Regions from separate parts of the Homo sapiens genome. Here region 1 is linked to region 2. Evidence: promoter capture Hi-C in 16 types of primary human blood cells and fetal thymus (Javierre and others, 2016). All regions are on one chromosome and are shown on one strand. The core of a region is centred on a gene start or on the middle of the fragment in contact, and the rest is flanking DNA. Distances in the headings are between cores, read along the strand shown.

Region 1 (4,582 bases), core at 410-2,909, 96 kb after region 2:
ATTCCTGACACTGCCCTTTAAGAGAAAAAAGTACCCACATTGTTCCCAGATGGAGAGGGTCCCTCCCAGAGGGTGAGGCACTGCCACAGGGGCTCACGGCCCTGCCAGGAGTGGAAGGTGCACACCCAGAAGTATTTCTCCTGTGAAGGAAGGGGGCTGAGCTTCGCTGCAGACCTGGCCTCAGGTGTGGATGAGCTTCGCTGCAGACCTGGCCTCAGGTGCGGAGTCTGCGGGAGCAGCATTTCCAGGCAGACCTGACAGAAGGTGCCTTTGAGAGGTGGTGAGCTCCGTGTTACAGGAGGCTTGTGAGCACAGGTAGCCCATCTTCTGGTGATGATGCTGGAGAAGCAATTCAAATGTCAGAAGCAGGACTGGACTCTGTTTCCAAAACTCACGTCTGGATTCTACCCCCTGAAAACATTATTTACACAATGTTTTTCCTTTAAACAATTCACACATTTGATTAAAAGGGTAAGTTTATTTTTTAAAAAGTCAGTGTCAATTACCACAAAGAGGTCACCATAAAAATAGATAAAAAGAAACAAAATGGCATTAAATTCTAGCCAAATATTGCTGCCTGTGGAGGGCTCCCGGCCTGAGACCCGCCTCAGACCCCACCAGGCATTCTTTGGGATTCCTGCATAGGCACCATTGGAAAGGTAAATCCAGAGCAAACATTTCAGGTACATTCGTGCAAAATGCAGGCCCTCAGTCCTGTCCTCAAAGGCAAATGCTGGTGCCCAGGCTCCTCAAGAGGCCCCTAGGAGCACCAGGAGGCCTTGACCCAGGTGAAGGGTCCTGCCGCAGGCCATCAAGGGGGTCTGCAGGTCTGGCCCAACTCCAGGCCCTGCGTGGTGGGGTCCATCTGCACCAGCTTTCGGGAGCCGACTGTGTCCTTACTCTTGCCCTAGAGGACTCGGGGGTCAGCTACAGAGCACAGCAGTGTCTTGGAACAAGGGCAGCCTGATTATGTGCCCTGGAACATTCTGAACTCAATAAGTTCTATCCCAGCAGGGCTTTTTTTCTTTCTTTTCTTTTTTTTTTTTCTTTTTTGAGAGGAAATAATTAAAAGAAAAAGAAAGCGAGAACCCCCTGGCTCCCCTGTGGCCTTGCAGGGTCGTACTGCTGCCTGTCCGGGCGGCTTCAGGAGGCTCGGAACAGATGCTGCACATTTGTGGGCCACTTACTGTTCTCTGACATCATCTTTAGAGGCACCTCAAAGAGCTGAAATGTGACAGCCTGTATTTCCACCTCCCTCTCTCTTTATGGACATTGTCACTTGGAGGAAAATCGATCTAAAGATCAGAAGAGAAGTGTAGAGAGAGAAGAGAGAGAAACGCTGTCAGGTCAAGGGGCAGGTTAATGGCCAACCCAGAAACAGCGTGGGATCCCGGTGCCTCTGCCTGGAGGGTCCAGCCTGGAACACACATCATTCCTAGCTTTGACCAGGAATGGTATCCAAAAAATGACCTCACTTAGCTATTAGTACTTGATTGGGATAATACTTAAAATCCTGCTAATATTTCTGTGGTTGCTTCCATTCTGTAGTCATAGTTCATTTCTATTTTCTATGAATTTGGCGTATGTCTTAGCCAACTCATTTGAAACTGCCTGTCCTTCCTTGACTTATAAAAAAATGGCCATTTCAGCTTCGTGATAATGGGCAAGTCTCAGAAATGATGAAAACATCATTTAATTGTTTCATTATTTCAAAGTCTCAGGCTGTGGCCATGTGGTGGAGGCTCTAGAGAAAGTTTCTAAAAAATATTTTAAAAGTTACGACTGCACTGTTTTGCATGAGAAAGAGGATTTTGCTAAAGATTGAAGGCGATCGGGCTGCAGGCGAAATGTGGCTTGAAGTCCCCAGCTCCAGAGTGGCACGTTTCAGTCTGTTAAATGCTGTGTTCAGGTGAGGAGTTAGGATCATGGTACAACCCAGATGTGGGCTGGCGGCTGGCACACAGCTTAGCAAAGAAGAGACGCACAAGGCCAGAGTGGCCTTAGGAAAAACTCAGCCTGGAGTTGTCCAAATGTCCGCGATGGAGGAGTTTCATGGGGGAATTAAGATTGTCAGGTTAGGGAAGGGCACAGGTAGCTGGGAGGCTCTTTGGTAGCAAAATTCCATAGAAGATAAAAAGCATGTTCTCTCTTGGAAATCATCAGTCCATCCTGTCGGAGCCCCTTTGGAGCAGGGTGTGGCTGGAGGGCCTGGCTTGCTGGCCACGCCTCAGTCACAGCATTGGCTTTCCTGCGCTTCTGCTTCCTGCTCTTCCCGGTGATCTGCGTCCTGCGGGGCGCACAGCAAGCCCTCCGTGGGACGAAGATCTTCGTCTTCCATCCACGCTGCTTTGCTCACCTGCGACATGACCTGAGGCTCTGGCCCTGCTGAGCTGGGCCCTTGGCCAGTGCTGTACAAACGCCATCCACCATCTGGTGACAGCAGCCTAGCAATTGACCAACAGAGGCCTCCCACTGTCCTCCCTCCTGCCGCCCTCCCTCTGCATCTCCCAGAGCAGGACGACTCCAGGGAGACAGACTCAATTCAATCTTTTTCTGTTTCAGAGAATCTGTCACCATTAAAAGCAGCTACCAGGGAATCTGATTCCATTGCACCAGGTCTCAGGTCTCAGGTCTCAGGCGTTCTTCCAAAATGCTGGTGGATGGTGGGCTCTCGCCCTGGGATTATAGATGCCCAGATAAACCATATGTAAATAACACTGCATTTAACCCGCCGACAAAGGGTGGCCTTCTTGACGGTGGTGAAGGAAGTTTTGACCCAGGAGAACAGAGGTCGTCATTCACAAGCACTAGGGTCCGGTGAAAGCACAGGCTTCAGCGTCTGGACAGGCAGCTACATGACGGTATCATGTTCTCTTTAGAAGCCACCAACTGATTCCTGTGTGTTCAGAGCCTGCTGTTAGAGATTAGGTGTGGGGTAGAAAAAATTGGAATCTGGACTTCCCTGCCTGGCGAGATGGCCCTGAGCTCTGAGACATGACCTGAGGACACCTGGAGTGCCCTGAGTTCCAGGGGACACATAGCAGCCAAGTGGGGAAGAGGCCACTGAATGCCGGTGGCTCCGTGGCAAAGGCACATGGAGCTGTAGGAAGAGACATGCTGGGGCCCCCAGCACCTGGAGAGCAGCAGCCCTGTCCACACCTGGGGCCTTGGCTGCCCACAGCCTCTCTAGAAGGGTCATCTGAATTTCACTGGTGATCTGCTTGTGAGGTCTTCTGCATACACTCTTACTTACAAAGAGGCAAACGTCTGCCAGCCCAAGGGCTTCTGGAACTGCCTCGGTCTGCCTGGCTCCTGAGCCTCCCCGCGGGTCTGGGGGTGGAGGTGTTCACAGGGTTCACTTGGCTGAGACCTCACATTCTGGAAGGGCCTCGTGTTAGGTGAGTGATTATCTTAGCTTCCAATACAACTGTGCATGCAGTCCGGACCCGCCGAGGCACAGACCCATCAGGTCTTCTGCTAACTCTCATCCCGGCCCACCCAGCATGACTAGCAAGATTATATTGCATTGAGAGTGTTTACAGTAAAAGCGTTAAATGTAATCATTTACCTTGTTGGCGATTGTTTGCAGCCCTCTTTGAGCATTCATTCCCTCATGTTTCATTTGCTGAGACTTTGGCAAATGGAAGTGGGCAGTCCCTGTCCCCATCTCCAGGGCCCTGCCTTGGCACCTTCCCCACCAAGCTGACACCTCTGTGAGCTTCAGAGAAGCTAGAAGCTTTGGAGCTTTGTCCAAGGACATGGACACCCCATTGCAGCCTCACTCACTTGGGGGTGAAAGGAAGGTGACCTGCCCAGCCCTTTCAAAGTTCCCTGACAATGTGCAGAGCTCCCTGGCTGTGTGCAGAGCTCGCTGACCGTGTGCAGAGTTCCTGGCTGTGTGCAGAGATCCCTGATGGTGTGCAGAGTTCCTGGCCGTGTGCAGAGCTGGCTGACCATGTGCAGAGCTCCCTGGACGTGTGCAGAGATCCCTGGCCATGTGCAGAGCTCATTGTTGGGGGAAGTCAGGTGATAGAACCCAGAGGCACAAAAACAGGGATGCCCACAGGTCCCTGAGATTCCTTCTTGGGCGGTGTCTGCTGTCCCCAGGGTCCCGTGACCGTGGAAGGCACCATGACCATGTCCATCTTGTGCCAACCTGCTCTGCCCTGGAACATGTTGCCCAGGGCCTGGGTGGACTGTCAGAGCTAGTGAACGATATTTAAGCCTACACAGGGGCAAGGAATCTTCCAGAACTTTCTGTGTTTAGGTGCCACGCAGTCAGCATCCTGCAGGCAAGCCGGACCCTTTCCCACGTAGGAGACTCACAGAATTTTCATCTTCCCCATCACAAGGTAGAAATGGGCTTTTCTGGCTCACTGAGAGGCCTGGATGTTCTACTTAAACCCCAGGAACGTGGAGCTCTAGAGGAGATTAGAAGAGCCAGCTCAATTTCCTGACCCCAGATGGTTTGTTCCATCTGCAGGAAGGGGGTGGCTCCTGCGTACGGGGCCCAGGGCTGAGTCGGCGGCGCGTGCTGCACCTCCCTGGGGTGCCTTCCTGGGCTCTCTCATCCCCCGGCCAC
Region 2 (4,322 bases), core at 1,153-3,652:
AACTGCATTCTGGGTTTGCTCTCAGGGGTGGGGCCAGGGAGGGACCCAGGTGTGGCCTGCATCCGGGGCTGGACCTGGCGATGGGCAGATGTGGGGACGAGAGCAGGTGGGAAGGAAGGAGGATCGCAGCGCCCAGGCAGGGACGGCATCTCTCTCCAGGCTCTCCTCAGGCCGAGTGGGGCAAGGCCACAGAGGGCTCGTTTAAGTGCAGGCGTGGATGCTGCATCCCATGCTCGGCCCCTCCCTGCAAGTAGGACAAGTGGCCCCACAGAGGTCACGTGCCTGCCGCTGTGCCTGATGAGCAGGGGTGCAGCCGTGAGTCAAGGGGCTCTCCGACTGCACGGAGGGAGCCATTTCACCTCTGGACACGCATCCTAGGGTGGGGTGGGTGAATGCTTTCTGTGAAGGTCCAGAGAGTGAGTCACTGTGGCTTCGTGGGCCGGAGGATCTCAACTTTTGAGCAGAACCACTCACTGTGGCCGCTGTGGCCAACACAGCCATAGCAGTACGTACATGAGCAGGTGGGGCTGAGTGCTGATGAAACTTTACAACTCCAGGTGGGTCTGGGTTGGCCCCGTCCTCACGAACACGGGGCTGATCATCGCACCATCCATCCGGGAAAGACTGGGCCCAGGCCAAGTGTGTGAGTCCATTTTCGCACTGCTCTAAAGAACTGCCGAGACTGTGTAGTTTATAAAGGAAAGAGGTTGAATTGACTCACAGTTCTGCAGGGCTGGGGGAGCCTCAGGAGACCTACAATCATGGTGGAGGGAGAAGCAGGCACTTTCTTCACTGGGCAGCAGGACGGTGTGAGTGACAGCAGGGCAAACGCCAGACGCTTCTAAAACCATCAGATCTCATGAGATTCACTCTCACAAGAACTGCCTGGGGGAACCGCCCCCACGATCCAGTCACCTCCCCCTGGTCCTGCCCTTGACACGGGGCATTATGGGGATTACAATTCCCATGAGATTTTGGGTGGGGACACAGCCAAACACATCACGAAGTAACTCCTACGCCAGGTGTGTGCATGTGGCCTGGGCCCTGGTCACAGATGGAAAATGAAGCAGTAAAACAGAGGAGGGTCTCAGCTTGCGGGTCCTATGCTGAGGGTCCAGGTTGTTCCCTGGGAGCCACAGGCCAGGGCCTCGGAGTCCTCGGAGTCCTCGCTGGGAAAGGGGCTCTGCTGGAGGTTTGGGCCCGCCCTGCATAGCTGGGAGCCCTCTCTTTGCCCCACCCACAGGTGGAAGCCACTTCCCTCCTCTCCCAAACCCCCTCTCCTGGTTCCCCAGTTGGAGTGATCCACAGAGGAGATTCTGCGTCTAAACTGGGACTCAGGGAAGCTTCTGGAACTGTGAGAGGGGTTTGGTTCCTGCCTTTCTGAAGACAAAGTGGCGCCTGTCTTTCAGGGCATTGCGCCTGAGGGTACAGAGAGTGGGGCTCTGCCTCTGGGGTCCCAGGGTCTCCCCAGCTGCCAAGGGCAGCAGCCCCAGACCCAGACAGGGAAAGGAGCCTGGCTTCCCTTCCCGCCCTGCTCCATGGGGCAAGTGCAGAGAATCCCCAGCCACGATGCCCCTGCCCGAGGCACCCCAGGCTCCAGGCAGATCTCAGGCCTCCTAACCCAGGCCCTGCCCCGAAGGGACAAGTTTCAGAACAAACTGTCCACTGGGCTAATACCCCGGCTTTTGTGATCACCACATACTGATTTCTATCGAGGGATGAAAATTGACAAATTTAAACGGGAATTACTGGGCTCGGAAATTTGTTCTTTGTAATGAAGGGAACAGTTGAATACAGAATCTGAATTTGGGATTCAGACCAGACCCCCTCAGAGAAAGTGCTGAACCCGTGAGGAATTGGAGGGTAAGGGGAACTGTTCTTGGCAACTCCTGTCCCATTTCCTTTTGGGATGGGGGCTGCTCCCGCCCCCTGCACAGCCCCACAGGTCACAGCGGGGAAGACCCTGTCCCTGGTCCCCGGTCGCAGTGTGTGCCCTTTCCTACTTCCCTGCACGCCAGCCTCAGGAGGTGAGCTCACCTCGCCGTGTCGGGGGGACTCCCGTGTTACCCACCCCCCAAGCCAGGGAGCGGCCTCCAGGGGAGCATGGGGGAGGCTGAGGCCACCTTGCGGGGAGGCTGTTCCTGGGGCTGGGACGCCTCTCTCTGAATCATCCCCGCCCACAGAAGGAATTCATCTCACTCCTAATAATGTGTTTGTCACAAAGACATAATCGGCTCATCTGTGAGACTCCAGCGTGCACAGCGGTGCTGGCTCTTTGTTGTATAGTGGCAGTCTCACTGCAAGGCCGTTGGGCTTTGAGGAAAGGGAAGGAGGCACCCACTCTCTCCCCGGGGGGCCCCTGCCTTCCCTCGCAGTCCCACCTCTTCCGCCTGCCTCCATCACAGCAATTCAAATAACTATGAATGGGGCTACCTGGGAGCCCCACATCCCTGGCTGTGGGAACAGGCTGACCTTCCAGCACAGTGTCCTCCTGGTGCCAGGCACTGCCCCTCTGCCAAGGACCCTGCAGGCCTGGTAGGTCCCCAAGGGCACCCGTGGCCTCCCACCCCCTAACCATGGTTTTGGCACTGAGCTGGCGGCCAGGCGGGGCAGAGGAGGGAGCTGAGCGTCTTTCTTTAGTGTGCACGTCACCGCACACGATGGCACCCCACTGGTTGCTGCCCATCATGCAGGGCTGCCTCCACATGGGGCCTCAGCACCGGCTGGTGCCTGGCACCCCGCACGCGGCACCCCACCCCAAGGGGAGGCTGTACAGGCTCTGGACACACCCCAAAGCCACCCGAGGGCTGCTTCTCATCAGCAGGGAGGGGCTCGGGCAGCACAGTCCCGTGGAAATAGGATGCAGGCCACGTGAGGCTTAAATGTACCAGTAGCTATGTTACAAAAGTGGAAGGAAACAGCTATGATAATTTTAATACGATATCTTATTTAACTTAATGTATTCAAAATATCATATCAACTTGCAACGGTATTAGTGAGCTATTGTATACCGCCTTTCCGCATTAACTCTAAAACCCGGTGCGGATTTCAGGCTGAAGCTCATCTTCACTCAGACCAGCCATGTCTCAATGCCCAGTGGCCACGTGTGGCCCAGGGCTGCCACATTAGACAGGGCTGCCTGCAGCTTTTATGGGAAGCCACCTGGGCCAGGCACACCAGCGCCTGCTCCTCGCTCCCCAGGGGTGGTCTTGGCCCCAGCTCTGCTCAGCAGAGAACCCAGAGCCTCCAGGTCAGCCCCGGACACAGGGCGTGGGCATTGCACAAGGTCAAGAATGAGTTACTCATTTTCAACCACCTAAAAAGATGGCCCCAAAATGAAGCCTGGGTAAGACAAGGGGCCACGTCCTTCCAGGAGCAGAGCTCGGCTTCCTCTGCATCGGCCACAAAGCCCCTACTGCACCGAAGCCCAAGAGCTGAGCCAAGATTTTTTTTTTTTTTTGCGGGGAAGGGGGTCACACTCCAGAGAAGGCTCCAGAAAAGCTCTCATCCCAGACCTCGCTGCCTCCGCCCGCCCCTCACGCCCCATCTCTTGCCCGTCCCCCACCAGGGCTGAAGAGTGAACTCAGTAGTAACCCACGTGGCTGAGCCAGAGAAGGAGGCTGCGCAGGGGACAAGGCGGTCGCTTCCAGGATGAGAAGCGCAGACTCGAGGTCGGGCAAACCTGCCGCCGGCCCCAGCCGTGTGCATCTGAGCAAGTGGCTTCCCCCAGCCTCAGGCTCCTCATCTGTGAAACGAAACCCCCTCCAAGCTGGGCTGGCTCAGCACCCAAAACCATCATTTAAAATGCGACCCTGCCTGGGGGCTGTTCGAATCCTCTATTGAGATAAAGTAGCAATCATACATTCATCAGTCACTACTCCCTGCTGGAGGCCTCTTCCCCAGCACAGAGCCTTCCCTCTCTCAGCTGAGACCCCAGGCAAGGGTAGGGAGAAGAGGGTGCTGTCTCCCTCCCCCTCCTCCCCTCTCTCTCCTCTGTTCCTCCCTTTCTCTCTGTGTCTCTCTCTCCTTCTCTCCCTCTCTTTGTGTTTCTCCCTCTGTTTCTCTCTCTGCCTTTCCCTCTCTCCTCTCTTTCCTTTTCTCTCTCCCTCTCTCTTCTCTATCTCCCTCTTTTTCTCCATGTGTGTATCTCTCCTCCCCATCCCCAGAAGCCAGCCCACATGGCTCACCCTGCATTGCTAGGTGAGACAGGCCTGAGCCCTAAGCCAGGAGTCAGCCACAGCCGAGCTTTCCAGAACTTTCTAGAACCTTCCCTTTCCAAAGTGGAAATCTGGACTAGAAGGCACGATTCCCACTGGGGAGCT

What was found. Contacts are between HindIII fragments. The CHiCAGO score rates a contact against its expected background, and 5 or more counts as called.
Region 1: a contact is called between a fragment that was not itself captured here and the fragment with the promoter of NTSR1-AS1 in region 2, in 1 of 17 cell types (monocytes). The highest score is 5.7, in monocytes.

What each region holds. Positions count from the first base shown.
Region 1 is chr20:62,636,623-62,641,204 of GRCh38, reverse strand. It overlaps LOC124904949 (a long non-coding RNA gene), which reads left to right. Exons shown (of 2, transcript XR_007067711.1): 2 at 1-3,560. Among named protein-coding and RNA genes, the nearest start is that of SLCO4A1, 3.6 kb to the left of the region's middle. The HindIII fragment of the contact is 4,159 bases long and covers 1-3,738 here.
Region 2 is chr20:62,733,439-62,737,760 of GRCh38, reverse strand. It overlaps NTSR1-AS1 (NTSR1 antisense RNA 1), which reads left to right and starts at 2,402. Exons shown (of 2, transcript NR_199009.1): 1 at 2,402-2,535. The region is part of intron 1 of NTSR1 (neurotensin receptor 1); the gene reads right to left. RefSeq lists an enhancer at 2,133-2,978. The HindIII fragment of the contact is 3,056 bases long and covers 1,346-4,322 here.